Regions from separate parts of the Homo sapiens genome. Here regions 2, 3, 4, 5 and 6 are each linked to region 1. Evidence: promoter capture Hi-C in 16 types of primary human blood cells and fetal thymus (Javierre and others, 2016). All regions are on one chromosome and are shown on one strand. The core of a region is centred on a gene start or on the middle of the fragment in contact, and the rest is flanking DNA. Distances in the headings are between cores, read along the strand shown.

What was found. Contacts are between HindIII fragments. The CHiCAGO score rates a contact against its expected background, and 5 or more counts as called.
Region 2: a fragment that was not itself captured here is called in contact with the fragment with the promoter of ZC2HC1B in region 1 in 4 of 17 cell types (M1 macrophages, erythroblasts, megakaryocytes and 1 more); the score reaches 7.6 in M1 macrophages.
Region 3: a fragment that was not itself captured here is called in contact with the fragment with the promoter of ZC2HC1B in region 1 in 5 of 17 cell types (erythroblasts, megakaryocytes, M2 macrophages and 2 more); the score reaches 9.2 in erythroblasts.
Region 4: a contact is called between a fragment that was not itself captured here and the fragment with the promoter of ZC2HC1B in region 1, in 6 of 17 cell types (M2 macrophages, M1 macrophages, M0 macrophages and 3 more). The highest score is 11.9, in M2 macrophages.
Region 5: a fragment that was not itself captured here is called in contact with the fragment with the promoter of ZC2HC1B in region 1 in 1 of 17 cell types (megakaryocytes); the score reaches 5.1 in megakaryocytes.
Region 6: the fragment with the promoter of FUCA2 here is called in contact with the fragment with the promoter of ZC2HC1B in region 1 in 3 of 17 cell types (M2 macrophages, erythroblasts and M1 macrophages); the score reaches 6.5 in M2 macrophages.

What each region holds. Positions count from the first base shown.
Region 1 is chr6:143,860,591-143,865,732 of GRCh38, forward strand. ZC2HC1B (zinc finger C2HC-type containing 1B) reads left to right here and starts at 3,884. Exons shown (of 8, transcript NM_001013623.3): 1 at 3,884-3,977. The coding sequence starts at 3,950. LTV1 (LTV1 ribosome biogenesis factor) reads left to right here. Exons shown (of 11, transcript NM_032860.5): 8 at 1,514-1,653; 9 at 2,254-2,306; 10 at 2,496-2,696; 11 at 2,827-3,222. The coding sequence ends at 2,937. The HindIII fragment of the contact is 3,305 bases long and covers 3,141-5,142 here.
Region 2 is chr6:143,552,847-143,557,910 of GRCh38, forward strand. It overlaps PHACTR2-AS1 (PHACTR2 antisense RNA 1), which reads right to left. Exons shown (of 3, transcript NR_027113.2): 3 at 1,269-2,384. It also overlaps a transcript of PHACTR2 not described here. Among named protein-coding and RNA genes, the nearest start is that of PHACTR2-AS1, 14 kb to the right of the region's middle. The HindIII fragment of the contact is 1,933 bases long and covers 1,877-3,809 here.
Region 3 is chr6:143,598,401-143,602,968 of GRCh38, forward strand. It overlaps a transcript of PHACTR2 not described here. Among named protein-coding and RNA genes, the nearest start is that of PHACTR2-AS1, 31 kb to the left of the region's middle. The HindIII fragment of the contact is 880 bases long and covers 1,539-2,418 here.
Region 4 is chr6:143,570,367-143,575,106 of GRCh38, forward strand. It overlaps a transcript of PHACTR2 not described here. Among named protein-coding and RNA genes, the nearest start is that of PHACTR2-AS1, 3.4 kb to the left of the region's middle. The HindIII fragment of the contact is 7,387 bases long and covers 1-4,740 here.
Region 5 is chr6:143,525,489-143,530,405 of GRCh38, forward strand. LOC105378035 (a long non-coding RNA gene) reads left to right here. Exons shown (of 4, transcript XR_007059796.1): 4 at 1-435. Among named protein-coding and RNA genes, the nearest start is that of FUCA2, 16 kb to the left of the region's middle. The HindIII fragment of the contact is 5,428 bases long and covers 1-4,917 here.
Region 6 is chr6:143,510,315-143,515,478 of GRCh38, forward strand. It overlaps FUCA2 (alpha-L-fucosidase 2), which reads right to left and starts at 1,406. Exons shown (of 7, transcript NM_032020.5): 1 at 1,097-1,406. The coding sequence starts at 1,320. LOC105378035 (a long non-coding RNA gene) reads left to right here and starts at 1,471. Exons shown (of 4, transcript XR_007059796.1): 1 at 1,471-2,462; 2 at 2,680-5,095. RefSeq lists a silencer at 639-842 and enhancers at 1,043-1,705, 1,265-1,394, 1,505-1,684, 1,706-2,366. The HindIII fragment of the contact is 2,651 bases long and covers 1-2,381 here.

The DNA.
Region 1 (5,142 bases), core at 2,634-5,133:
TTTTTAAAAAAGAAAAAATTCCAAAGAAAGGTCTATAGTATAACTGAATTGAGGAAAAAATTAACCTAGTCAAAATACATATTGAGAAAATGAAAAAGGAAAAAAGAAAAGGGGAAAAAAAAAGATAGGGCGGAAAAAAGAAAGTGGTACATTTTCCATAAACTTGGGTCATGTATAGCTCATTGTTTTGCCTACATTTTGGTGTTAAATGTTCTGAAGTAGAACGTAATGGGAATATACGAGGAGCCACTTTCTCCGTATCTTTGACTGGAGAAGAGTCATGGTAGAATGTGTATTCGTTTATTAAATTTTTTTTTTTTTTTGAGACGGAGTCTTGCTCTGTTGCCCAGGCTGGAATGCAGTGGTGCGATCTCAGCTCACCTGCAACCTCCGCCTCCCAGGTTCAGGTGATTCTCCTGCCTCAGCCTCCTGAGCAGATGTGATTACAGGTGCACACCACCATGCCCAGCTAATTTTTGTATTTTTAGTAGAGATGGGGTTCCACCATGTTGGCCAGGCTGGTCTCAAACTCTTGACCTCATGTAATATGCCTGCCTCGGTCTCCCAAAGTGCTGGGATTATAGGTCTGAGCCACTGTGCCTGGCCAATTTTTAATTTTTTTTTAACTTTTATTTATTTTGCTTAAAAGTTTTGTTTTGATAGAAGCATGAATATTATTAGGGTGTGAAATATAAGGACAGGCTGGGCGTGGTGGTGTACACCTGTAATCCCAGCTGTTTGGGAGGCTGAGACAGGATCACTTGAACCTGGAAGGCAGAGGTTGCAGTGAGCTGAGATAGCACCACTGCTTCCAGCCTGGGTGACAGGGCGAGACTCTGTCTCAAAAAAAAAAAAAGAAATAAAGGGACACATTCCCCTTGGAAAATAAGATCGTGTTTCTAGTCTTTTGGGCTGAAGAATTATTCCAAGCATACGCTTTTTTCATCTTTCTGAAATGCCAGGTGTTCTGAGAAGTAGGTATTTACATCTCGTGGAAAGACAAGAATTTGTCTCTCCAGCTGGATTAGCGGAACTGACCAGCCAGTTATTTTGGCAAATCAGCATCCACATCAAGGTGACTCTTCTCTGAGAGAAACTGATGAAGTGTTCAAATCAGCTAGAAAGGTCTGATGTTCCATGATCACTATAATATATAGATCCCATAGCAGAAAAAGAAGCTATATAGTTGAGTGAAATATTCGAATACTTTGCAGAGACAGATGAGTTATGCTTTTTTAGGCTTTAAAAACCTGTTTTCTTAGGAAGCTGCCTTGGAAAGACACAGCTAGATGTTACCTTCCTATCAGCCGAGTGAATGTCCAAAACTCACTGGAGGGAAGAGGCAGGGCTGGGTAGAACAGAGTTTGACAGAAAATAACGGATGGGTCACTGGAATATGTGCATTTAAAACATTGGTTTTTCCACAGCTAAAAATTGCAGTTTTAGTGACATAGTATAATAATAGGTCATTTTTCCCCCTCTTGGTCTTCACTTTTAAAAACTCGTCTAAAAGTTGTGTAAAATTGAATACCCTTGAACCCTTGGAGGATCAAGACCTGCCAATGAATGAGCTTGATGAGTCTGAGGAGGAAGAAATGATTACTGTAGTCCTTGAAGAAGCCAAAGAGAAGTGGGATTGTGAATCTATTTGTAGTAAGTATATTCACTTTATGATAGTAATTTTAAAGTATTAAAGTATATCAACTTTAGGCTGGGTGCGGTGCCTCACGCCTGTAGTAATCCCAGCACTTTGGGAGGCCGAGGCGGGTGGGTCACCTGATGTCAGGAGTTCAAGACCAGCCTGGCCAACATGGTGAAACCCCGTGTCTACTAAAAAATACAAAAATTAGCCAGGTATGGTGGCAGGCAACTGTAATCCCAGCTGCTCGAGAGGCTGAGGCAGGAGAATAGCTTGAACCTGGGAGGCAGAGGTTGCAATGAGCCGAGATCATGCCATTGCACTCCAACCTGGGCAACAAGAGCAAAACTCTGTCTAAAAAAAAACATATATCAACTTTGAAAAAATACATATATTTTAATAAGAGTTAGGCTTTTAGGAAATTTGTGAAAAATTATTTGGAAAGAGTAATATTCCAATACTGAGTTGTAAGCAATTTATAAAACATTGATCAGAGACTCCAGTGTTATTTTGCACTATGAAAACACAAGGTCAGAAATATAGTAGGAATTCAGTAATGCTTTGTGGAACTGAAAACATGCTTACTGATACATGACTTTTATTTGTTTGTTTAGGTACATACTCAAATTTATATAACCATCCACAGCTTATCAAGTATCAACCAAAGGTAAGTCCTAGTGTGCTGAGCTATTTGAAGGATGCAGTGCATAAAAAATAGAGTGCACATTTTCGCACAATAACTTTTTATCTTTATGGCTAGAGTGATATTAGAAAAAGCATCAACAGTATGTCATTAATGAGCTATTTTTTAATAGGAATGAGAAGTAACTCTAGTACCATTTTATCTGTATTTCAGCCCAAACAAATTCGAATATCTTCTAAAACAGGAATACCTCTCAATGTCTTACCAAAGAAAGGACTCACAGCAAAGCAAACTGAAAGAATACAGATGATTAATGGCAGTGATCTTCCTAAAGTATCAACTCAGCCACGTTCTAAAAATGAAAGCAAAGAAGATAAAAGAGCAAGAAAGCAAGCTATAAAAGAAGAGCGCAAGGTAAAATATATTTTTCAAATGTGAGATTTACAAAGAGCTGGTGGAGGGGAAATTAGGGGAATTTTGTAAAAGCAGTCTGTATCAGTTTAAAGATGTGAATAATACAAGTATATTCTTGTACTTATAACAGGAACGAAGAGTGGAGAAGAAAGCTAACAAATTAGCATTTAAACTGGAGAAAAGAAGGCAAGAAAAAGAGCTGCTGAACTTGAAGAAGAATGTTGAGGGTCTAAAGCTATAGACAGTGGAGCATACAGGGCAAGGCACTTTATTAGGGGCTCCTCATCTTTGGTTATTGACTAGAAACTTCAGAAAGACAAAACTGTTTGCCATTTTTACTGGCAGATAAGAGGAAAATACAATATTTGTATTATTTTTATACTAGTAAGTGTCCCCTGCCAACCATCTTGTAAATATTGTAATACTTTAATTTTTAATATTATAAGCTTACATTTGCTCTGAAGTAAATGACTTCATGAATGTGAAATGTTTGATAAATTAAAGGAAAATATCTTCATAACGTGAATGGAATTGGTGTATTCATTTATTTGTATGGTTGTCATAGTTGTTTTTTGCAGATGTTTTCAAATATTTCTTTGAATCCTCTCCACGCCTTTTCAGGAATTACATGGTTTAATTTGCTGTAAATAGAAAAGTGGCCTGGTTAAACTCAATTTTGAAATGCTGACTTTATTCTGTTTAGTGTAAGATGAGTTTTTCTGAGAAGGTTCCACTGTTAGGAAGCTAAGTTTTCCCTTGCTGTATACAAAGGACTGTTTCAAAAGTGTGGCAAAACTGAATATTAAGGTTCTTAAGATTCATATTTCCTGTTATATTACTGGATGACTTGCTTTTGGGATTTAGGAACAGTGAAGGCAGGAAACAGAATAGTCAAGGAAATAAGAAAACTTATTTGGCTTCAGTGAGTCCCTAGTTCAAAATCAGAAATATTTATTTCAGTTTAAACTGGGGAGTTTGTCTTTTCAACATCAGTTAATGCTTGGAACCATTCATACTTGATTAAAATACATCGTTGAAAACTTTCCCTGTTTTTGATGAGTTGATTTTTGTTTTAACTGATTTAAACTTTTTCAAGGTTTAGGCAATGACATCATCACAATTGTTGATTATTTGGTAAACTATGACTTCTTGCAACAGATTAGTGGTCCTGGTTTATGTTCTTGACTAGTATGATGTTATCTGGACTGGGCTGTAAAAATCTGTGAACACTGTTGCTCTGAGTTAGGAACAGAATGGCTGGGGCAGAACCATTTTTGGCAGGTGAGCTGCACTTGATATCTAAATTATTAGAAAATGCCTTCATCTGTAATCATTCATTTATGGCTTTTCCAAAGCTGGTAGGTATTAGCTTGTTCTACCATGTGTGATCCGTTTAAATCTAAGTATTGTAGGATTTTTAAAGAGTTGTCAAAACTGATGGCATTAGGTATTCTACCAACATTGGCTAGAAAAAAATCTTGACTGAAGAGCTTGTCATTGCAGAAGTAGGATACTGGAGAGAATGTATTTAAATGCCAACCTGTGAAGTAAAGGGTCAGATGATGGTTTATGTCAATATTGAGAATGTAAGTACTAAAAGGATTGGCCATTTATTTTGATAGCTGTCTCAACTGAAGATTCTCAAAAACAGCAAGAGTCTTAATAGGCATTGGATGTTTCTTTGTCATGTTACTCAAATTCTGTGTTATGAGGTGCTAACTTCACTGTGTTTAAATCCATATATTATATATTTTGCAATTAAGAGAAAAAGACTAGGCCATGAGTCTTGATGAAGCATATTGTGATTTAGGCAGGTTATACTCCAAACTTAAATATTTTAATTTTATTCTGAAGAACAAATTCATGATACTTTAAATGAATTTTCTGATATCTTGGTTCTCTAAAAATCTATAAATGATGATTGGGAACTGAACATAAAAGCTCCATGCTAAATGTTGGGAGCCCAAGAGATCAGAGGGTTTTTGCCTTCAGGAGCCACATGGTCTGAGGAGGCAGGATAGGTGCAGCGAAATGTAACTGGCAATACTATCGTGGTAAGTACCACTTGTAATTAGAATCTTGGTACTTGCTGTTCCCCCAGAAGTGCTTTCACTGCAGACAGACCTTCCTCATGGTTGGTGCTCAGCTGTAACCTTCACTATAGGCTATTCCCTGAGCTTGTATTTAAAAATCCTGCACGCATCCCTCCCCTGCATCCTTGACCCTCCTTCCCTGGTTTATGTTCTCCACAACATCTGTTGACGCAGAGGACTGTTTTTCAGTCTCCTCTCGCAGGACAAACCCTGAAGGCACAGTGTTTTATTTATTGCTTTATCCTTAGGTCTGGAAGGGTGCCTGGCATTCAGTATACAGTCACAAAGTAGTGTATGAATGAATGGATAGATGGGAAAGATTTCAGAAAAGAATTAAACATAGAACCATAGCA
Region 2 (5,064 bases), core at 1,593-4,092, 310 kb before region 1:
CACTCCAGCCTTGGCAACTGAGCAAGACTCCATCTCAAAAAGAAAAAAAAAAAAAAAAAAAAGCAAAAAACTAACCAACCAACCGAACAAACCAAAAAACACATTGAAGAAACCTTTAGGAAAACCGGCATGATCTCTGATGTCCAGCTGCCTGTCACTTGCCAGGTATTTAAGGAGTGAAATGAGCAATGATGTTTCATCCAGATGCTTAAACATGCTTATCCCAGCCCAGAAGTGTGGCTGAGGGGCTAAAACCCATGCACCACTCTTGACCCATCAACAAGGTTCAGCAAGTATTTACTGAGTCTCTATTATGTGCCAGTGAGAAAACAAAAATCCAGCTCATAGAGACTGCAGTATAGTGAGGGTGTCAAAGATAAAGCTGGAAACTAAAGTGGCAAGGAGAGATTTTAATGAGTGATAGACTATTGCTATAGAGAACTATTCAGTGTGAACTGAACAACTTCAATTTGTACAGAAGTGACTGTGCATTTTAAAGAGAGAATGAAGGAGTATAGAGGGAGGTGAACAGAGGTTCAGTAAATTCACGGAAGTGAAAATATCATACAAACCAGGAAGAGGGGAGTTGGTGCATGTAAACCCAGCTGGGTTTGTTAACTGGTGCTTATGGAAGTCAGGCTCCCACCCTCCCACAGAGGCTGGAGACAGGAGCCCCATCTTCAGATGTTAGATGAACAAACAGTAAATTATTTTGACAGTTTTGAGTTTTCTCAGACAGGCACTTTAAGGTGAGTTAAGGTCATTCTAGAGATGCAGGCCTTGAGCTGTTAGAAACTGTATTCATGTTTTATTCGAGTCTCTATAGGCTGAGGTTGAGGCCTAGTTGAGAAGAGGGCTCAGGGGAGCTGACTAGAGTTTGATCAAGAAAAGAGTCTTGCTGGGAGACAGAGACAATACACAAACTAAATAAACAATATTAGATGGTGATTACAAAGCAGAGGAAGGGTATAGGTCGTGCCGGGGTGAAGGTGTGCAGATTGCAACCTTAAGTATGGCAACCAAGGCAGGCCCCACTGAGAAGGTGGCATTTGAAGAAAGGCCTGAGAGAAGTTAAGGGGTGATCCTTCCAGGCAGAGAGAAGAGCAAGGGCAAAGGCCCCAAGGAACAGAAAAGAATCCCGGGTTGGGCCCCTGTAGACCACCGCAATGACGTTGACATTTTCTCTGAGTGAGACTGGGGATCCAGTGGCGGGGGCGCTGGGCAGAGGGGCATCATGTTTTTTGATACAAATGTAGAAAGCAAAGTTTGGGAGATAACTATTTCATTCATATCAATATCAACTTAGGAGTGAATCCACAGTATGCAGGGCTATGGTGTCTGCTTCTTCTCAGGAAGGGACAGTAACTAGCCAATTGATGGAGATTTTAACATTACGTGGAAGTAGCTAAACTAATTGAAGACATTTAAAAATGTCTTTACCTCCAACAATTTGCTGTTAAAAAATTATTCGATGACACTTGTTCAAGCACGGTAAGGCAGGTTTTATTTAGGACCATTGCAATAGGTATAGGGACCACTGCTATCGATTTTGTAGTCGGGGAGTGGGATTGGGCTCAACTCTGAATGTAACAGGGAAAATAACTTATAGCCAAGGAGCAGTGTATCTTGCTCCTTGGCTATAAATTACAAGTGGGTGTCAGTGGATGGAAAATTACTAAAAGGAAACGTCAGCGTTAGAGCAGTCTTGCTGAAGACAGGACAGGATGATCAGCCCTCACCTGAGGAAAGGTGAAGGGCTAAGGAACTCGATTGAGGGTGGGAGTTCTCGGTAAACCAATTTAGCAGGGCTTTTGTTAAAACTGTATTTTACGAGGAAGTGCCCAGATGGGCCTAGAAGATCCAGGAGCCTGACTAAAGCTTGGTCACTCAAATAATCTTTGTCACTGCCAGTCTAAGAGGTCAAAAGTGTAATTTTGTCTTTCCCTGATTACTATTGAACCTAGGAAATATTTTATATTATTAGCCATTTGCATTTTCTTTCTCTGTGGTCTTCCCAGTACATATCCTTTGCCCTTTGTTCCTGTTGCATTATTTTCTTAACTCTTGGTGTGTTGAGTTGATAAATAATCCTTTGTGGTATATACATTGGAAGTATTTTTCTGCTATTTGGTTTTCTTTCATTTTGTTCTTAGGACGTTTTGTTACTCAGGAACAAATCCAGTTTTGATGTGTGAAGGTGTGTGTTTCCATACACATACGGAGGATTTACAAATATGCTGTAGATGTCTGTATTTGCTTTGAAATGCCCTTCAATAAAAACCATCCCAGCTTCTGTGATTCTTATCTTCCCTTTTTAGTGTGGGAGGCTTCCTGCTTTGCTTTGTCTGCACATTTACGTCGAGCCTGCCGAGCTTAATTTTAACCTGGGGAAAAATACAGAAGAGAAGCTATTTTCAGTCAGGTCATATTACTGAGAACACCTGTGAAATTCAGGATATTTTCTTGGGGGTAAGTTAAAATGTAGGACGCCACCTTGCCTGAAGCACATTTCTATTGTGGTTGCTGTACAAATTGGGAGGTGTTACTTGGAGCCAAAAACCTTATCACTTTCACACCAGCACTGCTTCTAAGTTGCATGCCTCCAACCCTCAATCCTTGGTATTAATTCTGAAACAACTAGTATAACCATCTGTTGAAAAGTTCTGTGGGAAAAAAAGGGGTCTTTGTGGCCTGTGTTATTCACTTCCCTGATGATCAACACAGAAATATTTTACATTTTGGTTATCAGTCTATTTTTTCCTGCTTTTCCTCTTGCTCCAGTTTGCCTTCCTAAATGTCTGGCCATAGGCAAATAAAATATACCCCCACCCTAGATGATTATGGTGTCAAAATTCCCTTAATCACACAGTAGCCCCAGCCAGCTGTTTGAGTAATATTTTTCCTACCTCATCGTGTGAATTGTCTTATTGTTTTGGTGAAATGTTGACGCTACCACCTACTCTCATCCTCCCACCTCCATTTGCAGATAAAATCTAATTATCACCTCAGGATGGTTTCTTGACATACAATATAATCACCACCGACACAAAAGAATTTAGGGCACTATGACATTTAGCTTTTTTTTTTTTTTTAAAGACTGTTGTTCAAAAAAATGATCCTTTTAAATTTGCTATTTCACAATTAATTTTTTTAAAAAGAAACAGAAAAAAAACAAAAAGAAAAGAGACCAAACCTTTTACTCTTAGTAATTAATCTATTTGTAGTGTTACATTGAAGGTAGTAGCAGAAGGGACAGTGAAAACTCATGATGGTTAAGAAATTAACAAAGGAGCATGCTTTTAGGACTTCAGGCAGGGATCATTACTAAAGTCCCTAGCTTTGATTAGAATTTTGTGATACCAGCTACTGTATAATTCGGCCCCAGTTCATTTCAGACTTTCTTCCTTAAATTCATTTATTTATTTCAGGACATTAAGGTATGGACTTTAGGTGTGGGGCATCTCCAATGCTCCTGCGTGCCAGGCACAAGGCGTGGGCCAGGAGAGTGAATATCTGGTGGAGGGAGGTGAGGAATACAGGAAGTAGTGCATTTTACTAAATGGAGAAAACATTGAAGGCAGCCAGCTTGATAGAATCATCAAAAATAAAAATTGAGGCATATAACAAAACCAGAAAGTACATTCATAACTCCGTATGTCAAACTAGAGAGAGGAAAGTGAAAAAGATGAGAAAAAATATTTTGAGAAAAGTTGACTAGCTCCTCTGCAGTGACAGCATTCAAAAAATCAATCTAAACGCAGCCCTAGAGCAGCAATTCAGCTTCCCAGCTTGGAGGACTCTAGGTTTGAAGCTTTCAGCTGCTATCAGATTTGAACCTCTCAGCTCACAGGGTGCTAACTAGAGGAGAAGGAAGACGTACATCACCACAGGACCACAGCGACGCATCACCATGGAATTTTCAGACTCAACGCACTGGCCACACCATGGGGTCCAATTGCTGCCATTTAGAAAAGCATGCTTTTAAAGTGTGTCATTTAAGAGTAAGTATTCTTTTTTAAAAATATGGGCCAGGAACTAATAAAAATGATGCACAAAGACGTGAGAAGATATGCTGCCTGTCTGTCCTCCTCCCTCAGAGAGACCACATTTCCTTTTGAAACAAAAATGAGGCCAGAAAGAAAGGGCCTCCCTCCCTAACCCCAGCCTCAGTTAGAGAGGGCCACAGGAGCTCGCCTACCATCTCTCTCCAAAATATGTTCTCCATGTGGTTCGGCAAGAGGATTCACTTGGTTTGACAAACTTTTCCCTTTGAAGAGTAAACACTTCCTGAAGGGTTAAAGGCCAGGTAATGGCCATTCACATTATTTTGCAAGTAAGTTACTTTAATCATCATCATCACTAGTATTGCAGAGAAGTTTAAAAGGATTCTCATCTCTCAACCATATTTCATCCTCATAACCTTTTGAATCCAGTGGGACTTTTATTTGCCCCATTTCACAGATGGGGAAAGTGGAGAGGGAGGTAAATCATCTTGGGTCATACAGCCAGTAAGTGCAGAGGCAGAATTTAAAGCCAAGTCTTCTGAGTCCAAGTTCAGGGCTGCTGCCGTAACCCCATTCGTTGCACTCCCACATTTGCTGGAACTGGAGCTTTGGGTGGGATTGGGGAAGGAGGGAAGAGAAGGTCTGGAAGTGTTGGAGGTGGCATGGGCAGGGAGGTATACCTTCCTGCTAAGATGGCTCACCCTCACCACACAGGGTCTCGATTTTTCGAGAACTGACCGGACCATGTGGACCTGGTCCAGCTCTTCCAGACTCTTCCACACTCCAGTCGTTTTTCCTTGGCTGACTTCTTTCTCCGTAAGGTCTTGTCGCGAGTCCTAGAGGCAACCAGTTCCTTGCGTACCCCACCCTCCTTCGTCAGCATGCTGCCACCTTTGAAACACAGGCGTGTTGTTTCTTTTGCCTGAACCCCAATAGAAATGTAAAAGTTGACACCTTGTCAGTGGGAAGCGAAGTCAGGTCATGTTCTTGAAGGTAAAATTAGGCCAGGGTTCTACGGAATAAGCTGGAACCATCTTCCATGAGAATTGTGCTTTTTTTC
Region 3 (4,568 bases), core at 729-3,228, 260 kb before region 1:
CCCTTCAGAACACCTTGATTTGAGCCCTACAAGATAAGACTAATTTTGGATTTCTGACCCAGAACCATCAGAGTAAATTTTGGCTGTTTTAAGCCACTAAATTGGTGGTAATTTGTTACAGTAGCAACAGGAAACTAATACTGATGAAAAGATAATAGGAAAGGAAAGTAAAAGCAGAAGTGTGGGCCAGGGAGGGATCGCAGTCATCTGATGGCAAAGCACTTCTCTAAGAACAACCACATGGCTTCCCCTTCCTGGCCTATGTCCCTGTGGATATGTTAGAACCTGGTTAACCTTGACTGTTATCCAGTGCCTTTCCTGGCTTTGTCCTTCGTATCAGATGCAGATGTTTTATCTCCTTTTTTTATGGCTCCCAGGAACTTTCTATGACCCCCTTAGAGGAATCACTAGACCTCATGTCTCAAAGACTAGCTAAGTGTTTGCTGTGGTCCTAACAAGTCCACCTAGAGCCATTTAAATGGCTGGCATTGATGCTTTCTGTTATCTGTTCCAGGTTTAGTGGCGTGAATAGTAAACATAGTAGATTAGTCCTTTGTAATTAAATTTAGATAGCATCTCACCCCTGACTCTTTTAGAACAATGATGGCAGTGGGAGGAGTCAGAGAGGTCAGTCCCCAGTTAAATCAGTCAGGCATTTATTGATGACCCTCTGGGTACTCAGCGCTTTGCTCTAGGTGTCCTAAGCTGATCTGAAAAATTGGGGTCACCTCCAATTCTTTTTTCAATGAAGTCCTGGATAAGGAGACAAAAGCAGAATGGTGAAAAAGAATCATTCTCTCAATTAATCTAAAGCCTATGTGTTAATACTCTTTAAAAAAATAAAACTACTAGATGGCAAGTGTACTTTCGTAGGAGAAAACTAAACTTTCATTAGGCTATTTAAGGAGATCAGGCAGAAATTGATTCATGAGAGAAAAAAGTAACATGCTTTTTAGGCATTTTTAGGAATTTTGGCCCTGCCTGGACCACACTGTTTATTGATTCATCCATCACTTATCTGGTCATGTATTTATTCTAGAAACAATTGTTGAGTACTCAGTAGTGTTCTGGGAGCTACGAGGAAGACCTTGACAAGATTTCTACGTCTTTCATGGAAGCAATCAATACATGTTTGATAAGAAGTAACCCAACTTAACAAATGTCGTATTACTAAAGAAATGCTTATTAATTTAAATTTAAGTCAAGCAGAGCCTAGAATACTTGTTTGATGAATCCCAAACAGCCTACGGAGGAAATTTTTTGAGTTGCAAAGGGTGCTTCCCTTGCTAGCCTATAAGAACAGCTCATTAAGATCCAACCTATACCTTTCCCCCTTTCTATGCTGTATTAAGACATACCACCCTTTCTTTATAGAGTCATGAGTCTGCAAGGGATTTGAGAGGTCAGCAGGCCATTCTGCTGACTTGGGCCCAAATGCTTTCAGGAGCCAGGCAGGCCATGTAAGTGTGTGTAGCTCAATGTGAGACAATTGGGAGTGGTGGAAACTTTGGCAAACTCAGAGCAGATGCCTTGTCTAAAGCTTTCAAGGTTTGGCCTGGCCAAATGATCATGTCAGTGAGCTGGATTTGATTAGACTACCAGTTGGCAGCTCATGATTCTAATCTGAGAAAACAGTAGTCTGACCCTTTCTTAAAGTCTACTAGAGAGAATCACCTTTTTGAGTATGGATAGCAGGCTGCCCGCCGTCCGGCCGGCATGAGCCTGCCAGCCACATCATTGGAGGGGAACTTGCTATGTTATTAGGATGGGTACCCATCATATTTCCAACTAACTGGTGGCTTGTGGAGAGAACTTGTGCAAGCTGTATATTCCTGAAGCAGCTTCTCTGAACCAGTTTTTCCCTTTGTTTGCTGGTTTTGTAACAGTAGACTCATCCATAAGCAGCTGTAACTGCCCTTTAAGCAACAGGCTACCCCTTTGGCTGATCGATATGTTCAGAAGCCCTTTTTTGCCAATAGTCAGCACCATGTCAAACAGATGCCTTCCTCTGCATTCCAGTGACCTGGTGGCATTGCTGCCAACTCAATAATTTTTTGAGCATTGGCCATAATAAAGTATAGGTACAGTTCTTAAAAACTATTTTTAAAAATCCTTGAAGTGATAAATAGATTGAGCTAAATAATGGTAAGCATATATCCTTCTGCTTTGATTTACAGATTTATAATTTAGTCTTCCTTCAGGAATAATTTTTAAATGCAGCCATCTCCTGGAATTTAGAAAGAGGCCTGTATCTCAATGCCTTTTACAGGCAGTAATTCTACCATGTTTATTTTCATACCAAGACTATTGAGTGCTATTGAGGGCGAAGTGATTGTTTTGTTTAGTTTTGTTTTGTTTTGCCAAGGCAAAAAGAATAGCTTTAAACATTTCATTAGTCAAATTGAGACAGAAGCCTGAAGCTTTAAAAGAAATTATGCTTTTGCATTGAAAGCAGAAGTTCAATAAAATAAGATTCTATAAAAAGAAGTTGGGCCTATACATTGAGCCTGGCCATTCCTGGTAAATATTGTAGAATGAAGAGATGACACATGAACATGCTACAATACGAAAGACCTGAGTTTGAATCCAGATCTATCATTTGTGCATCTTGAGGCACATTTCTTAACCTCTCCAAGCCTTAGTTTCTTCATCTATAAAATGGGAATAATAATAGTACCAAACTCATTCTTGCTGTTATGTTTTAATGAAATAAATGCATAAAGAAAGTATTAGGCACCGTGCCTGGTAAATAGTCAATGTTCAAAAAATGAAAGCTGTGGTCTCTGGCTTGAGACTCAGATACAGGTGTCAGTTGTGGGTTCCAATTCTGGAGGAGAAGGAAGAAAGCCCAGAATCTTCTTTGAGAAAATCAGAATCTTCTGGAAAAAAAGGCCGTCTTGGGATGGCCTTTAGATCTGTACAGGTTGCTGGTCAAAGTGTCTGATGAATTGATTTTCACTGCAATGGCCAGAGCTTCCCCAACATGTTTTTGCAGGGCCAGGCCAATGTTGAGCCTCCTTCTCAGAGGGCTGCTTGCAGGTTTTTTTAGGAGTACAATGCTGGGCTAAGGCACACTAGACTGACACCTAAGAAATCTCATTTAGATGTCAGAATTTGCTTCCTAAGCACTCTTGGGTTAACTGGTTTTATTAGAAAAGCTAAACATATTTCACATATTGAGGAACCCTCTCTCTATGACTTTGGCAGAGTTCCTTTTGTGCCTTTCACGGAGATAGGCTTTTTAGTTTTCCAGCCACCAGGGCATTCACTTTGAGATTCATTGCTGAGTAAGTGCCATCTGTGTGGACTCCTGGGTCCCAGATGGTCCTTTGTTTTTGCTCATTCTTCTGCATTGTTACTGTAAGAGAAATACATTCCCACGCTTTTTATGTATTAGCAATCTTAAAATATTTTGGAATTCAACTCATGCCTTCATTTTCAGTGGAAGGTCTTTTTTGTTTGTTTGCTTGTTTGTGGTTTTAATTTTTAAAAAATTTTTAATTATTATTGATACATAATAGTTATACATATGGGTTACATCTGATATTTTGATGCAATCATACAACTTGTAATGACCAAATCAAGGTAATGGAGATATTCATTGCCTCAAGCATTTATCATTTTTTATGTTAGGAACATTCCAATTCCACTCTTTTAGTTATTTTGAAATATAAAATACGATTGTTAACTATAGTCACCTCATTGTGCTGCCTAACATTAGTTCCTTTAGTTTTGTTTTCACTCTCGCTCTCCCCCTCCCTAATAGTTTTATGGTTTTGAAGTCATCTCCACCTTGTCCCTCTAACCTTCCCATCTAGTCAGGTTTTCTAATGACATCTTGAGGAAATTTCTGCTCAATTTTGAGGGCATACTGCCGATCCAGTATTTAGGGACCCACGTGAAGCTTAGTTAATTATTGATTATGAAGACTTATCCTCTCCCTGCCCCTCAAGGCTTTATAAAGCCATGGCTCCTGGAACTAAGGCATCAGCCATTTGTTTTTCCAACCTCATTTCTTGAGCCAGGACTCTCCATTCAAGCAGAGCCTGGCTCTGATTGCTCCTTTCTCATGTGGAGCTCTTTTAGAGCCATTACTACATAGGAGCTGCGCATCTGGCCTTGACCTCTGCTTTTGTCCCTTGGGTACAGCAGGACATTGCAGAAACCTCACCCACAGCCTTCAGCTTTTGGCTCCCTGCTCATTCATCGAAATGGTCAGCTAGCTTCTTGTGCCTAGCTGTGATTTACCTATTTAATATTTTATCTATCATTGCTATGTGTTTGGAGCAGTGGGGTGTTGTCCAAGTGTGGATTCACCAAACCACCTTGGCCAAAAGTCCAAACTTGTCGGAAGACTGTGTCTGATGGATGTTGCCTTATGTAAGGTCCAGACACCAGGCAATCTGGATGTGCAGAAAAGTTTCACAGCCTCTGCATTAAGATGGTAAAGAGGGTAAGTGTGGGCTGGGCACAGTGGCTCATGCCTGTAACCCCAGCACTTTGGGAGGCCGAGGTGGGCAGATCACCCGTGGTCAGGAGTTTGAGACCAGCCTGGCCAACATGGCAAA
Region 4 (4,740 bases), core at 827-3,326, 290 kb before region 1:
GGTTTGTACTTCGGCTTCTCTCACTGTGCTGGAGATTAAAATGTGAGATGAGGAGTAACACACTTGCCAGTGACATGGAAGTAAATATTATTGTTTTTGGGGGGTGACATCGACTGCATTTCAAATACAGCCATGAAAATGTTCTATCAATAGCTTTCTATCGATTGGCAGTTTTGTGCCTTTTCAGTTCAGCTCCCAGAGCTGGTCCTGATGAGGTGACTGGCAACTCACCCCAGGTGTGGCAGGCCCCTCCCCACTCTCCTGGGGCTCTCCCTCTCCCCGCTTGCTCTCCTTCCCTAATCCCCACACCTTTTTATGAAGATCAGTCCTTTGCACAGCAGCCATGGCCAGCGTGAGGTGCATGTGCAAGTGGAGAAGTAGCAGGTTCATCGACTCGTTCTGGTAGGGGGCCTCTATCTTATTGAGCACACTTTTGACGGTGGAGATGCCGCTTTATTGCAAATCCCTCCCCGGACTCCTCCTCTTCTTCCAAAATTCAGGCTGAAGACAATTGCCCTGATTCCCTAACCTAAGGGATGGCTCTGCAAGTGGTGATCGATGTTTATCAAATGCCCCTGAGACTCGAAGACGCAAATTATATTCCTATTTTTCATGAAATTTAAAAAACTTTCTAATTTAAGATCATTTAACTTTTAGCTGCTGCAAAACTGGTACATGGAGTTCTCGTATACTCTTCACCTGGACTCCCCAAATGGTAATATCTTACAAAACTGTAGTACAACGATGGAAATCAAGAAGGGAATGTAGGTAAAGAGCAGTACAGTACAGTACTTCTAACTAATCTGCAGCTGTCATTCAAATTTAGCCAATTATCCCACTAACAATTATCATTGTTAGTAACAATTATCATTGCGGTGTTTGTCAGATGGTGACTTTCTAGTTATCATCCTTCTGCATTTATCAATTGGAATTCTACTACAATGAAGAGCTACCTCTTCTGAGCTATTTATTCATTCAGTTATTTATTTGTATTAGTGTGGTCTCATGGATATTTCCTTTATCCTATAATCCATTACTATCTACTTTATTTCTTTTTTTAGAGACCCTCCAGCTCTGTCACCCAGGCTGGTGCAGTGGTGCAATCATAGCTCACTGTGGCCTCAAAGTCTTGACTGAGCTCAAACAATCCTCCCACCTCAGCCTCCTGAGCAGCTGGGACTACAGGTGTGCACTGCCACACCTGGTTAATTTTTTTTAAAATTTTTTTATAGAGATGAGGTCTTGCTATGTTTCCCAGGCCGGTCAATCATCACTCATTTTGTTGCCCACATTGTTGTACAATTGGCTATCGAGAGTTTGGTACAAGTTTACTCCTGTGTCCATTTGCCATGCTCCCATCATTAAAAAAATCATTTCCTTACTTTCTGGGACCACAAGACGTTCCAGACTCATCTTGTGTTTTCTCTGTCCCTGCTTTAGAATCAGTCTTTTCTCCTATGAGCCCTGCTTTCAGTATTATTTTAATGTTAGATTTATAACGTTCTGTTCATGTTCTTGGAAAATTAATATTTACCATATGGGAGATCTCTATGTAGGAGATATTAGATATTCTTCTACCATCTACAGAACTGATTTCTTATGAAACACTGGTCCCAAAAACATGTCAGATTATGAGGAGCATAGCCTATTTTGATACATATGCTAAAAAATGGGAAGCCACACAACTAGGATTTTCACCAAAAAATCTGTTTTACTCTTTCTTGCTTCTATATTTCTTTTTAGTAGGTAACTACAGGTCCAATATCTTTTAGACTTTTTGTTGTTGTAGACTTTGTTTTTTGCTAAGAAATTCTTTTGGCCCCGTGTAAATATCTTCTGCAGTTTAGCTCCTCACTGGCTTGAATTCTCCCCTCATCATATTTTGTCCTGACACCTTCCCTCTTTGCTGAATTTTTGATAACAGCATCTCTGTTTCTCTGGATCTCATGACAATTTTCCAGTCAATCTGATCAATATATACAGCCTCAACACTGAAGTGAACCTGAAAGTTTCTTGACCAAAACTAGAGTCTAATGCCTCCATCAAATATATCCCAACTATATATTTTTTCAAAATAGAATGTGTGTGAGTGTTTGTGACTATGTGTTTATTATAGATTGATTCATACTCAAACACTAACAGTGGTTTTTTTGTTTGTTTGTTTTTTTGTTTTGTTTTGGTCATTGTGGTTGTTGTTGTTTTTGAAATGGAGAATCTCTCCATTGCCCCAGGTTGGAGTGCAGTGGCACGATCTAGGCTCATTGCAACCTCCACCTCCCGGGCTCAAGCAATCCTCATGCCTCAGCCTCCTAAGTAGCTGGGATTACAGGCACATGCCACCACACCCAGCTAATTTTTGTATTTTTGGTAGAGACACGGTTTCACCATGTTGGCCAGGCTGGTCTCAAACTCCTGACCTCAAGCAATCCACCTGCCTCTGCCTCCCAAAGTGCTGGGATTACAGGCATGAGCCACCGTGCCCAGCCAACAGTGGTTTATTTTCTTTTGAAATTCACAAATCTTACTGCTATGAATCTATTATCATCAAATTCTAAAAGCATAATGTCTTTTATCTGTGGAAGTTTGGTCATCATCAGATAAGAATCCAAAATAAAAAATGAAATGTTTTTTACTTTCTAATTTGAAATAATTCTGTCCTTACAAAACTGGCAAGACTAGTACCTAATGTTCTCATAGACCCTTCACTGGGTATATGTATAATTTTCTTATATATTGCATTTCATTGTATATTACATTCGTGATCTTCCTACTCAGAACTAGTAGGGTCATGTGGTAAACATCTGTTGAAAATGCCTTAGTGTTATATTCCTGTGGGGAAACCACCTCTAACCCACATTATCAACCATGTGATTTAGAGAGATTGACCCATTCTTTGTTCCTGGGCTTTACTTGGCTTTGGCCAGTCATCAATGGCTGCGTGCTTGGTTTAAGGGTGTGTCCTTGATCCAATTCAGGCCATCGAGATGCATGGAGACTTTCACTAGGTCTTATGGAAGTTTCTTCTCTATTCCATGGAGGTCCCTGGATGCTACATTATTATGTTTGTCATCCATGGGAGCCAGCCCAACTGTGAAGGTTAAGAGAGAAGAGCCTAGAGAATTTCTGAGCTTTGAGAATGGATGCAATTAAGCCTGAGGCCAGCCCTACCTCCAAACCAGTTTTGTGAACCCATGAATTTTCTTTCCCTCCTTTTTTTTTTTTTCTAAGTATTTTTGATTTTGGTTTTCTGTAGCTTGGAAAAGTTTCTGTTGATAACAGATCTTTTTCTGTGCATTCTATCATGTTATTTGTCCCTGTGTTGGCACTTATCTTAGTTAATTATGTGGCTGTTTTTCTTCAACTAAATTATGATGTCCTTGAAACTGTGGACTAAATCACTTACCTGCCTTTCTTATATTTGTATGGAGCTTAGTCCTTCCATTTAGCAGCACTCTGAGGGCCTAATTTCCACTAGGCCCAGAACTGGGTCTGGTTCTCCATAACTGTTTATGGAATCGTGAATTTTATTTAATATGCTACCTGTTTTCGCTTTCTATTATTGCATAGCAAATTACCACAATCCTAGTGGCTGAAACAAGTTACAGGTTCTATGGGTCAGGAGCCTGCGAGCAGCTCAGCTGGGTTCTCTGCTTAGGGTCTTGCCAGGTCACACTCAAGGTGTCAGCTGGGCTGTGTTCTCATCTGGAGCCTGACTGGGGAAGAATTTATTTTAAGCTCATTACACCTGCAGGCAGGATTCAGTTCGTGCAGCTGTGTGGCTGAGTGCCCCTGGTTTGCTGGCTGTTCACTGGAAGCTGCTAGAGGCTCTCACTGTGGGCTTCCTCAGCGTGGCTGCTCAGTTCCTCAAGGCAGGAAGGAGAATCCCGGTCTCTAGTTCACTAAGGCAGAGTCTTAGATAATGTAACATAATCACAGAGTGGTGTCCTGTTCCCTTTGCCACATTCTATCGATAAAAACAAGTCACAAGTTTCATTTACACTCAAGGCTAAGGGATTGTACAAAGGCATGGCCATTGGAGGTCTGTCCTCCATGCTACCTTAAAAGTTCCTGTTCAAAGAGTTTTCTTTAAACATAAAAGTGGGTTCAATGTCTCTCAACATTGATACCTCTCATAGTAGGCAATTAGATTTTTAAAGTTATAACTATTTTTTTTTCTACTCAGGAGTGGCATTAAGTTTGCTTGAAATTTCTTCTTATGATCACCTGTATTTTATTTAGGTTGAATCGTTTTGCAAATACTGGTAAAATGATTCCCCGGAATGTGTTTAACTTTTCAAAATACTTTTATATTCTTTTGATGGCATTAAAAAAAAAAAAGCAGTGGCTCTGAGTCAGTTATGTTGGAAATTTGATGTGAATATTTTCCAAGAGCCCAAAGGACTAAGGACTGTCTCCTATAAATATTTCATTTTTGTTCTAAATCTAACAGCTGGCCTTCTCCTCCTCTCCCCCAATTTTTTAAAAACTAAAGGCGTGGTGTAAAACAGCAACAACAACAACAACCTCCTACACTCCTTTACCCAAAGTAAAAATTAACACGTTAATAGACTTGTGAAATTTGGCCAGATTTTCCTTTATCTATACAGAATTCCTAGATGTTGACTGGCAGATTAGATTTCTCAGTATTTACTTGGCTAGTTAATTGTAACAAATAATCCATTTGGAACATAATTAAGAGATGATAAACAAAAAATAGGCAAATAAATAATCATCAACACT
Region 5 (4,917 bases), core at 1,291-3,790, 340 kb before region 1:
CCACATGAGTTATAGGGACCTGTGATGTGCAAAAGGAAGTTACACAACTTCTCTTCATGATTTCTGTCTTTTGGGCACAAAATTCTGACTTTTGAAGAATACAGTTGCATAATCACCACCACAATCAAGATATACAACAGTTCCATTATCCTAAATAGTCATCCCATCCTCCACTCCCAATAACTGGCAACTACCGGTCTGTTTTTCTGTCCCTATAGTTTTGCCTTTTCCAGAATGTCATTTACATGGAACAATATAGTATGAAGCCTCTTGAGCCTGGCTCCTTTCATTTAGTATAAGTATCTGAGAGTCTTCCATGTTGTGTGTAGCAGTAGTTCCTATCTTTGTATTGCTGGCTAGTATTCCATTGTTGGATGTACTTATTTGGGTTGTTTTCAGCTTGGGGAGGCTATGAATAAACCACTGTAAACACTTGCTTTCAGAGTTTTACATGCATATAAGTTTTCATTTACTTTGGGTAAATACCTATGAGTGGGTTTATTGGATCATTTGATATGTCTACTTTTCACTTTCTAAGAAACTGCCAGACTAGTTTCCAAAGGGGCCCTTTTGCATTCCCACCAGCAATTGACTTTAGTTTTTGAGGGTGGGACTAAGGAGGACCCAATCCCCAGGTGTGTTGACATCCCTACCTCCCAACTGTGAATGGGGTCAAGACCTCTGGCATCTTAGTGACGGGCACCTTAGCACTCCCCAGCAATCTCTGAGGAGTGAGGACATGGAAGGAGGGATTTCTGGGTTGTCTTGGAGATCTACTCAAAGGACGTTGTGAAACCTAGGTGTTCAACAACAAATAAATAGATAAAGAAAATGCGGTGTATATATACCATGGAATACTATTCAGCCATAAAAATGAAATCCTGTCATTCGAGGCAACATGGATGGAACTGGAGTCCCTTATGTTAAGTGAAATAAAGCCAGGCACAGAGAGTTAAACACCGCATGTTCTCACTCATATATGGAAGCTAAAAAAAGTTTATCTCACAGAAGTGAAAAGTAGAGCAGAAGATACTAGAGGCTGGGAAGAGTAGAGGGAAGGAAGGAATAGGAACAGATTTGTTAAAGGGTACAAAATTATAGCTAGACAGAAGAAATAAGTTCTAGTGTCCTATACCATTATAGGATGACTATAGTTAACAATAACATATTATATAGTTTCAAATGGCTAGAAGGAGGATATTGAATGTTCCCAACACAAAGAAATGATAAATGTTTGGGATAAGGGATATGCTAATTACCCTGATGTGATCATATACATTATATGTATTGAAACATCGCTATGTACCCCACGAATATGCACAATTATTGTGTGTCAATTAAAAATAAAGGTATAAAAGAAAAAAAAACCCATGGCTGAGTGTAGCAGGGATGGAAGGAGTCCCTAGTGAATCACTTGCCTTCAATGAGAGAGTTAGAGTCACAGAAGCAGCAATTGCTGAGGCTAACACTCAAGATAGTCCCCTCCTGTCTTCCTACACTCATAAGCCCAAAAGTTCTTGTTTGGTTCAAGACAAGGAAGGCATCCTGGAAAATGTCTTTTAGGCAATGTTTGTAGAAGGAGCTGAGCTAGGTGTGATTTATAGAAACAAAGAAATAGAATGTGTATCCTGAATGTCTTAGAGCAGTGCTCCTACTACATGCCATTCATTACACCCAGTGCTTTATATACACGAATTTCAATCCTGAAAACACCACCACAAATTAAACGTATGCATTACTTAGGGATCAAATTGAGGTATCAAAATTGAAGCAAAAGACAGTGATGCTGATCACATTTCTTCTGTGCCTAAATCTTTTTACAGGCCTCTGTTTCACATTCCAGCACGTCCCCGCTCTCCTCCAAGCCTCCAGCCATACTCACCTCCCTCCTCTTCGCTTCCATTTTCCTGCCTTGGGCCCGCATGCATGGTATTTTCCCTGCCTGGGATGCCTTCCCTGCCTCTTCCTCTTTTTTATCCCTACTCACTTGTATAAGCCACTTCTTGTGTCCTGAAACTTTTCCTGACTCACCCCAAAAGGGTCAATTATTCCCTCCTTTATCTCTCCACTGTAGTTTGTACACCCCTGTCTCCTATGCTGCTAGTCCAAGATTAGAGAGATTCCTATTCACTTCTGTGTGCCCAGCACAGAGCCTGAGCCTGTTAGGACATAGTAGCTGTTTTAATTTATTTATGTTTTATTGTATTTTTAATTGACAAGTAATAATTGCATATATTTATAGCATACATGAAGTTTCAAGGCATGTATAGATTGTGGAATGATCAAATCAAGACAATTAGCCTATCTATTACTGCAAATATTTATCTTTTTTTGAGATGGGGTCTCACTGTGTTGCCCAGGCTGGAGTATAGTGGCTCAATCATGGCTTACTGCAGCCTCAACCTCCCTGGGCTCAGGTGATCCTCCCACCTCAGACACCAGAGTCTCTGGGAGTACAGGTGCACATCACCACACCTGGCTAATTTTTGTAGTTTTTTTGTAGTGATGGGGTTTTGCCATATTGCCCAGGCTGGTCTTGAACTCGTGGGCTTAAGCAATCTGCCTGTCTCAACCTCCCAAAACTAGGATTACGGGCGTGAGCCACTGCATCTGGCCCAAATATTTATCATTTCTTTGTTGTGAGAACACCTAAAATGCTCTCTTTTCATTATTCCACAAAATGTATATATTCCAAAATATGTATAGTCACCATGCTGTTGCGATACAGCACCAGACCTATTCCTCCTCCCGTCTGACTGACTGAAACCCTGGACCTGTTGAGTAACATCTCCTCTTTCTCCATCCACCCCATCGCACCCCAGTCTCTGATAACCACCATCCTACACTCCACTTCTATGAGTTTGTTTTAGAGTAAGAAGAAGAAAGGAAGAGTGGGAGGAAGAGAGCATGGTAAAGGAGGTGTTTACTTTTGCAGCCTGGTACTCTAGAGGGAAATGGTGGGATGGGCTCAAAACTATGAGCCAGCTTTGGCCTCTCTCATAAAATGAATTCATCTTCGATTTTAAAATGAAAACAAAGAAAAAATTTCACAGAACCATCACATTCCACACCAGAAGAGGCCTTAGAGACCATCAAAACTAACTTCCTGTTTTTTGTTTCTCTCTCTTTTTTTTAAGTGACTTTAAAAGCAGGCCTACTTTCACTATCAGATGGTGATTTATCCTCACTCTGCTGATTACCTGGATTCCTTGCCTTTCTCTTATTTCATTTTCATCGTGTATCGTCAATTTTGATCTCTGCCGTTTCTTTTCAGATAATATTTTGATCTTTCTCTTACTTGCAGTCATTTTTATCTGCCTATATTAAGGAAATGCTATTGTCAGTGAAAGACACTTAGTTCTAATGCCAAGTATTTTGGGAAAATATTTCATAAGAAAACATACCATATTTTTATGTGCATGTTTTGCATATAAACTCTGAGAAATAAAACTTTTTAATATATTTGGGGGATGGGGAAGATAGCAAAAGAAAACTGCAATTATAAAAATAATTAGTTAGAAGGGGATGGGTATTGTCTCAAGGAATGCCTTCAGGAAGTTTTGATTTTAACCAGAGTGTCACACCTGTTTCCATTACCATGAAAAATCCACATTCATGCATCTAAAGACTACTAGTGATGAAATAGGGACAAATTCAGTTACAAAGGTCGTTTAGCTCCCTAGCTTGTCTAATTTATGAAATGTGGATAGCTTTCATTATGTATTAAAGCCTTTGAATAACAATTCCTCCTTCTGTAAGTGAATCTGCAATGTATAAAGAGCCCTCCAAGTGGCACTGTGGCTTTAAGAGGGGCTCCTGGCACAGCAAGGAGGAGGAAGACACTGGCCAGAGATGAGACAGATCCCAGCCCACATTTGGGCTCCTGCTGAAGGCAGTGTTCCTAGCACTGATGGGCGGAACAAGCTAGTTGATAAATTTTCATTTATTTCTTTTATAATCTTACATAAGTCATCACTTTAAAGAGAGTGGTAAAGCAGTGAGGTACAGTTTTTTTGTTTCTGTTATTTTTTTTAATTTTATTTTTGGTATTAAACACTCTTATATGATTAAAACTATGCTTATTTCATCTTCAGTTTTTATCCCTAACCTTTTGGAAATGGTATTCAATGAAAATAGCTAAATAAACTAATAGAGTTTAGAAACATTTTGCTTTGAAAAGCTGTACTGGATGCCTCTTTTTTTAAAATCAGTGTCAAACAGGCACATTTCCTACGTGCTGGCCAACATGTCCGTGGTACCAAGGGACAAGTCTAAGGAGAAAGAAATCTTTTTTTTTTTTTTTTTTTTTTGAGACGGAGTCTCGCTCTGTCGCCCAGGCTGGAGTGCAGTGGCGCGATCTCCGCTCACTGCAAGCTCCGCCTCCCGGGTTCACGCCATTCTCCTGCCTCAGCCTCCCGAGTAGCTGGGACTACAGGCGCCCGCTACCACGCCCGGCTAATTTTTTGTATTTTTTAGTAGAGACGGGGTTTCACCGTGTTAGCCAGGATGGTCTCGATCTCCTGACCTCGTGATCAGCCCGCCTCGGCCTCCCAAAGTGCTGGGATTACAGGCGTGAGCCACCGCGCCCGGCCGGAAAAAGAAATCTTATAGCATAGGTGGGACAGGATAAACAAAACTGGAAGTAAACAAAACCTCAAATAAGCAGGATGCCTAATCATTTTAGGATTGCATAGACTTAGTGGTATTTGAAAAGTGAATCCTAGCCCACCTTTGTCCACCTCGTCAGGTTCAAAACTGAACTACTCCCCACAGGGTTCCTCTTCTGCAGTGCTACATTACAGCATCCAGAGGAGCCCCAGGTCCTCAAGGCTCTGTCCTTGCAGATGACCTTCCTCATCCGGGGGTGCCTTTGCATTGCAGACACCACATCCTCTGGGAAGCCTTCCCTGGTTCTCC
Region 6 (5,164 bases), core at 156-2,655, 350 kb before region 1:
GTTGATTCAAATAAATACTGTTTAATGATTCCGTTCTTTTACTTAAGAATATATTATGTGTCCCAAAGTCCTGGAATTACAGGTATGAGCCACCGCGGATCACCTGAGGTCAGGAGTTCAAGACCAGCCTGGCTAACATGGCAAAACCCCGTTTCTACTAAAAAATACAAAAAAATTGGCCAGGCATGGTGGCGTGCGCCTGTAGTCCCAGCTACTCAGGAGGCTAAGGCGCGAGAATCGTTTGAACCCGGGCGGCGAAGGTTGCAGTGAGCCGAGATGGTGCCACTGCACTCCAGCCTGGGTGACAGAATGAGACTATGTCTCAAAAAAAAAAAAAAAAGAATATATTATGTGTATGTTTCTATATATGCACACAAAATATTTCTGTTTTGAAGGACTTAATACTTGTAGCATTTAGTCAGAAAAGACATGTGCAACAGTTTAAGAAATTACATGCACATTTTCACATAGATCTCAAGGTAAAATCTAACGCACAGATTTTTGTGTAGCACCTTTCATACGGCAGTATGATAACTGGGTTGTGTTAAGAGTACCATTCTAGAACCTCTTTAAAAAGTTCCTAGAGCCACACATGGGTAACATGTTAACATTAAGTAGCCAATGGTGTTCAATGAACAGTCGTTTCACATACTCATGACTATGTTTTAACCATAACTTCATGGCAGAACGACTGTAAATTGGCAGGTAGCAGCAGAGCAACCATAGGCCATTGTGCCTGAGTCACCGCTCGTGTGATGCCCCTGCACAAACTGATGAATGTCTGTAGTAGCTCGATGTTGTAGTGTCATAACTACAGCTTAATATGCGCAACTATGAAGAAGCTGAGGAGTCAGGAGTATCTGAAAACTCTTACAGTCACACGGAAGAAAAATTCCCTGTTCATCCAGCAGAAGCACTTAGGCAGGAAACCACATATTCGACACCCGGAAGTGCGAAACGCGGGTAACGCAGTGGGAGGTGAAACCGACGAGGGTGCAGGCAGCACCAGGCGGCGAACCAGGCCCGCTGGGTGGTGGCTGGAGGCTGCGGGTGGGGACAAAAGCGCGGCAGACGAGACAAAAGGGAGCGCACTCACCAGAACCACTCGCTACCGAAGCTGGGCACGGAAAACACTCCCCAGTGGATGAAGATGCCGAACTTGGCCTGGTCAAACCACGCGGGCAGCTGGCGGGCGTCCAGGGACTCCCAGGTGGGGTCGAAGCGCGTGGCGCTGTGGGCAGGGCACGGCGGCGGCGGCAGCAGCAGCAACAGCAACAGCAGCAACGGGAACGCGAGCCTGGGGAGCTCCTGGGGCCGCATGTCCCGGCGCAGGCCGGCTGTCCTCTCTGCAGGCTCCCGCGGCCTCGGGAGCGCTGTTCTTCCGTCTCTGCCGCTGAGTATGCCGCGCCGCGGTCACCTGACCAAGTCGGACTTGGAAACCGGCCACCCTTCCCCCTCTGGGGCGGGAGTGGCCACTCTCCCGGGCGTTCCGAATGACCTCAGGAGGGCTGCATCGCTCAGCATAACTAAGGCCAGCATTACCCCAAAGCCAGCTGGGACGGCTTTGCTAAGGCTCTGTCCTCTTGAGGGGAAAATATGAGTCTGAGTCAGGGCCTTGTGGCCAGCGCCTCTGCCCTCAAGCAGACACGACCCTGACCAAGAAACTGCCCAAGAAGACAATGCCCCCAGCCCACCCTGGTGGCTGCTCCACACGTCCGAAGCGTGCACGAGAAGGTCAAGGCAGGAACTTCAGCCGGGTCTCGCCATGATGGAACATGGAAAGCAACCTAGATCCTTCTCGGCCTCTGTATCAGCTCCCAAGATCCTGCATGTTAGAACCGTGGTTGTCAACCTTGAATTTGTATCAGATGAAATTCCAAGAGCTTCAGATTCAGCAGTTAGGTTGGGGCCCAAGAATTTGCGTTTCTACCCAGTTCCTACTTCTAGGATGTTCTGATGTTGGGCCGGGCGCGGTGGCTCACTCCTGTAATCCCAACACTTTGGGAGGCCGAGGCGGGCGGATCACAAGGTCAGAAGATCGAGACCATCCTGACTAACACGGTGAAACCCCGTCCCTACTAAAAATACAAAAAATTAGCGGGACGTGGTGGCGGACGCCTGTAGTCCCAGTTACTCGGGAGGCTGAGGCAGGAGAATCGCTTGAACCCGGGAGGCAGTTACAGTGAGCAGAGACGGTGCCACTGCACTCCAGCCTGGGCTACAGAGTGAGACTCCATCTCAAAAAAAAAAAAAAAAAGAAAGAAAACAAAATTGTGATGTTTCTGATTGGTGGTCCAAACTTTCCTGAGAACCACTGCATTGAACAAGGAGATGATCTGAGACAGGTGAAACCAGTGGAATGAATGTTTAAGAAACCTGCAAGCTTGGGAAAAAAGGCCAGCAACTTGGAAAGATTAATCAAAAGGATATTTGGGAAGCTTATCACCTCCACCTCTTGTTTGGTTTGTTTGTTTGTTTGTTTGTTTGTTTGTTTGTTTGTTTTTGAGACAGAGTCTCGCTCTCTCGCCCAGGCTTGAGTGCAGTAACATGATCTAGGCTCACTGCAGCCTCTGCCTCCCGGGTTCAAGGATTCTCCTGCCTCAGCCTCCAGAGTAGCTGGGACTACAGGCACATGCCACTGTGCCAGACTAATTTTTGTATTTTTCTTTTCTTTTTTAGTAGAGACAGGGTTTCACCATGTTGGACAAGCTGGTCTCAAACTCTTGACCTCAGGTGATCTGCCCGCCTTGGCCTCCCAAAGTGCTAGAATTACAGGCATGAGCCACCAAGCCCAGCCTCTCCTCCACCTCGTAAGTGTTTTCAAAGTAAAGCCAGAATCCTCAACTGCTTCTGCCCCCATGAAATCATTACCCTTCAATGAGCCAATTCAAATGCTGCTTCTTTTGTGAAGCTTTCTGCCACCACCCTTCCCTCCCAGAATGTTGTACTTTCCCTGATCTGCTTCATAACACCTCCTTCCAAGCACACATAGGATTTCACGCATCCTCTAGTAGCTAGGTGGTACAGGTCTGATTTCCCATCAGACTGTGAGCTTTTTGAGGGCATTCATAATGACCTTCTTTTCTGTAGTGCCTACAATTACAGCAGAAAAGCAGCACTCAAAATGTTTGTTGAAGCTCTCCAGTGAACTGGGGTTCTAATTATTGAGTGAAGAACTTGACACTAAGTGGCTGTTGCCTGCATTATCCCAACCCATCTCTGCAGAGAGATGGGAGCAGCAGAGGGCGCTGTCACTGCAGGTGTAGGGGCATTTTTCCTCTCCATGACATGCCAGATGGCCCCCCGGGGCCACAGCTCCACCGTAAGAGTCCCCAATTTTGTTTTGTTTTTTTACAGTGAGGGTGTTCTAGAGGAAAGGGCTCAACGAATCCAATTGCAATAGCTCCAGTTTGTGATAAAGATGACAATTTTTTTTTATTTGAGACAGAGTCTGGTTCTGTTGCCCAGGCTGGAGTGCAGTGGCACAGTGTTGACTCACTGCCACCTCCACCCCCGGGGATTCAAGCAATTATCGTGTCTCAGCCTCCCGAGTAGCTGGGATTACAGACCCCAACCTCCAGCTAACTTTTGTATTTTCACCATGTTGGCAAGGCTGGTTTTGAACCCCTGATCTCAAGTCATCCTCCTGCCTCAGCCTCTCAAAGTGCTGGGATTACAGGCATGAGCCACGGTGCCTGGGCTGACAAATATTTATTATTGAGTTTGTGGAACCCAGAATGATCTAGGGCCTCAGTGGCCACTGAACCCTGGGGCACACTTGAACAAAAATATGGGCTTCTCAGCCACTATGCCTTGACATCCTCTCTAATCAGAAGTTTGTGTAATAAGTGCAAAAGACAATATTCACAGTGACAATGATACTGTGAACTGCCATAGGGAGAGTAGACATGACTGTGGTGACAATGCAGCGGCAGCAGGACCCTGTCCTCTCATAAGTGGGCATCCTTTCCCCATGTGAACACCACATAGCAGAAACGCCCATCTTCCAAAGCCCTTTTATCATGTTATGAATTATTTACACTTCCATATATTTCAGTTAAAGAGTGGTAATCAGATCTGTATGGATGCCACTTGGGTCATTTGTCATTTCACTTGAAGGCAAAGAAATGTTTTTAACTGGTAAGTACAACCTTATCATAAAAGTCTATTTTCTGTAAGAAATACTGAAAATATATTAAAGACCTCCCTTAGTGCCCTTCAGGACACATAAGAATCCTAATATACCAGGTTGGGAACCATTGCTATAGGATTTGAAAGGAATAGTAAATAGTATTATCTGAAAGTGAAGAGGAAGAAGAGATTCTACTTAAAAATATTTGTTAAATGACTGAAAGAAATAAATCTATGAAGTCGTTTAGAACATGGTCCTTTAGGGAAAGACCTGCCTGCTGTAGATTCCATTCACATTTTATACGTTTGTAATGCCTTACAAAGCTAGTCTTTGCACTTAAAGCTACTGCTAACTGAGCAATAGAATCACACCTCATAAGGCTTAAACTGTGTATTTAAAGGTTTTGATAGGGGATCCAGAAATCTGAGTGAAACCCTGGGTTCTGCAGGTACACATGGCTCATGTATAAGGCATTTGAAGGGCTTGTGGCCTTGATGGGGAACACTGTCAACTCTGATCCTGTTTGTCTGAGGTTACTTGGGGTACAAGATGAAGACAGAAGGGCGTGCCTCCCTTCTGGAACCATCACGGCCAGCAGCCGCATGTTGGGCAGCTGCTGATACTCAGGGTGCCCAGGCGGGAGATGGTGAGAGGCCAGCCCTAGCCAAATTCCTTGCTGCTGCCAGAGGAAGCAGTCTTGCCATGTGTGTCCACAGGGATAAGATTAGCTGCCGAGGTGGAGCTGATATCTGAGCGAGGCTCTCGAGGACACATTCTGGATAGATCTCCATATGGGAGTTGGATGACTGCCACCAGCCAGTCTTGGCAGTCCCCAGAATTCTTCTGAAGTGGACAGTGGAAGAAGTGAAACATTTGCCTGGCAGCTGGCATCAATGCAGTCTCTCTCTGGACATGCAGAAGAAAAGGTTCAAAAGGAACTGAACCCAAACCAGTCTTTATTTGGTAAATATCCCAGCTTCACGGTAGAAGAGCAGGCATGGGGGAAATAAAAGAAAACCCGCCTTTTTCAGG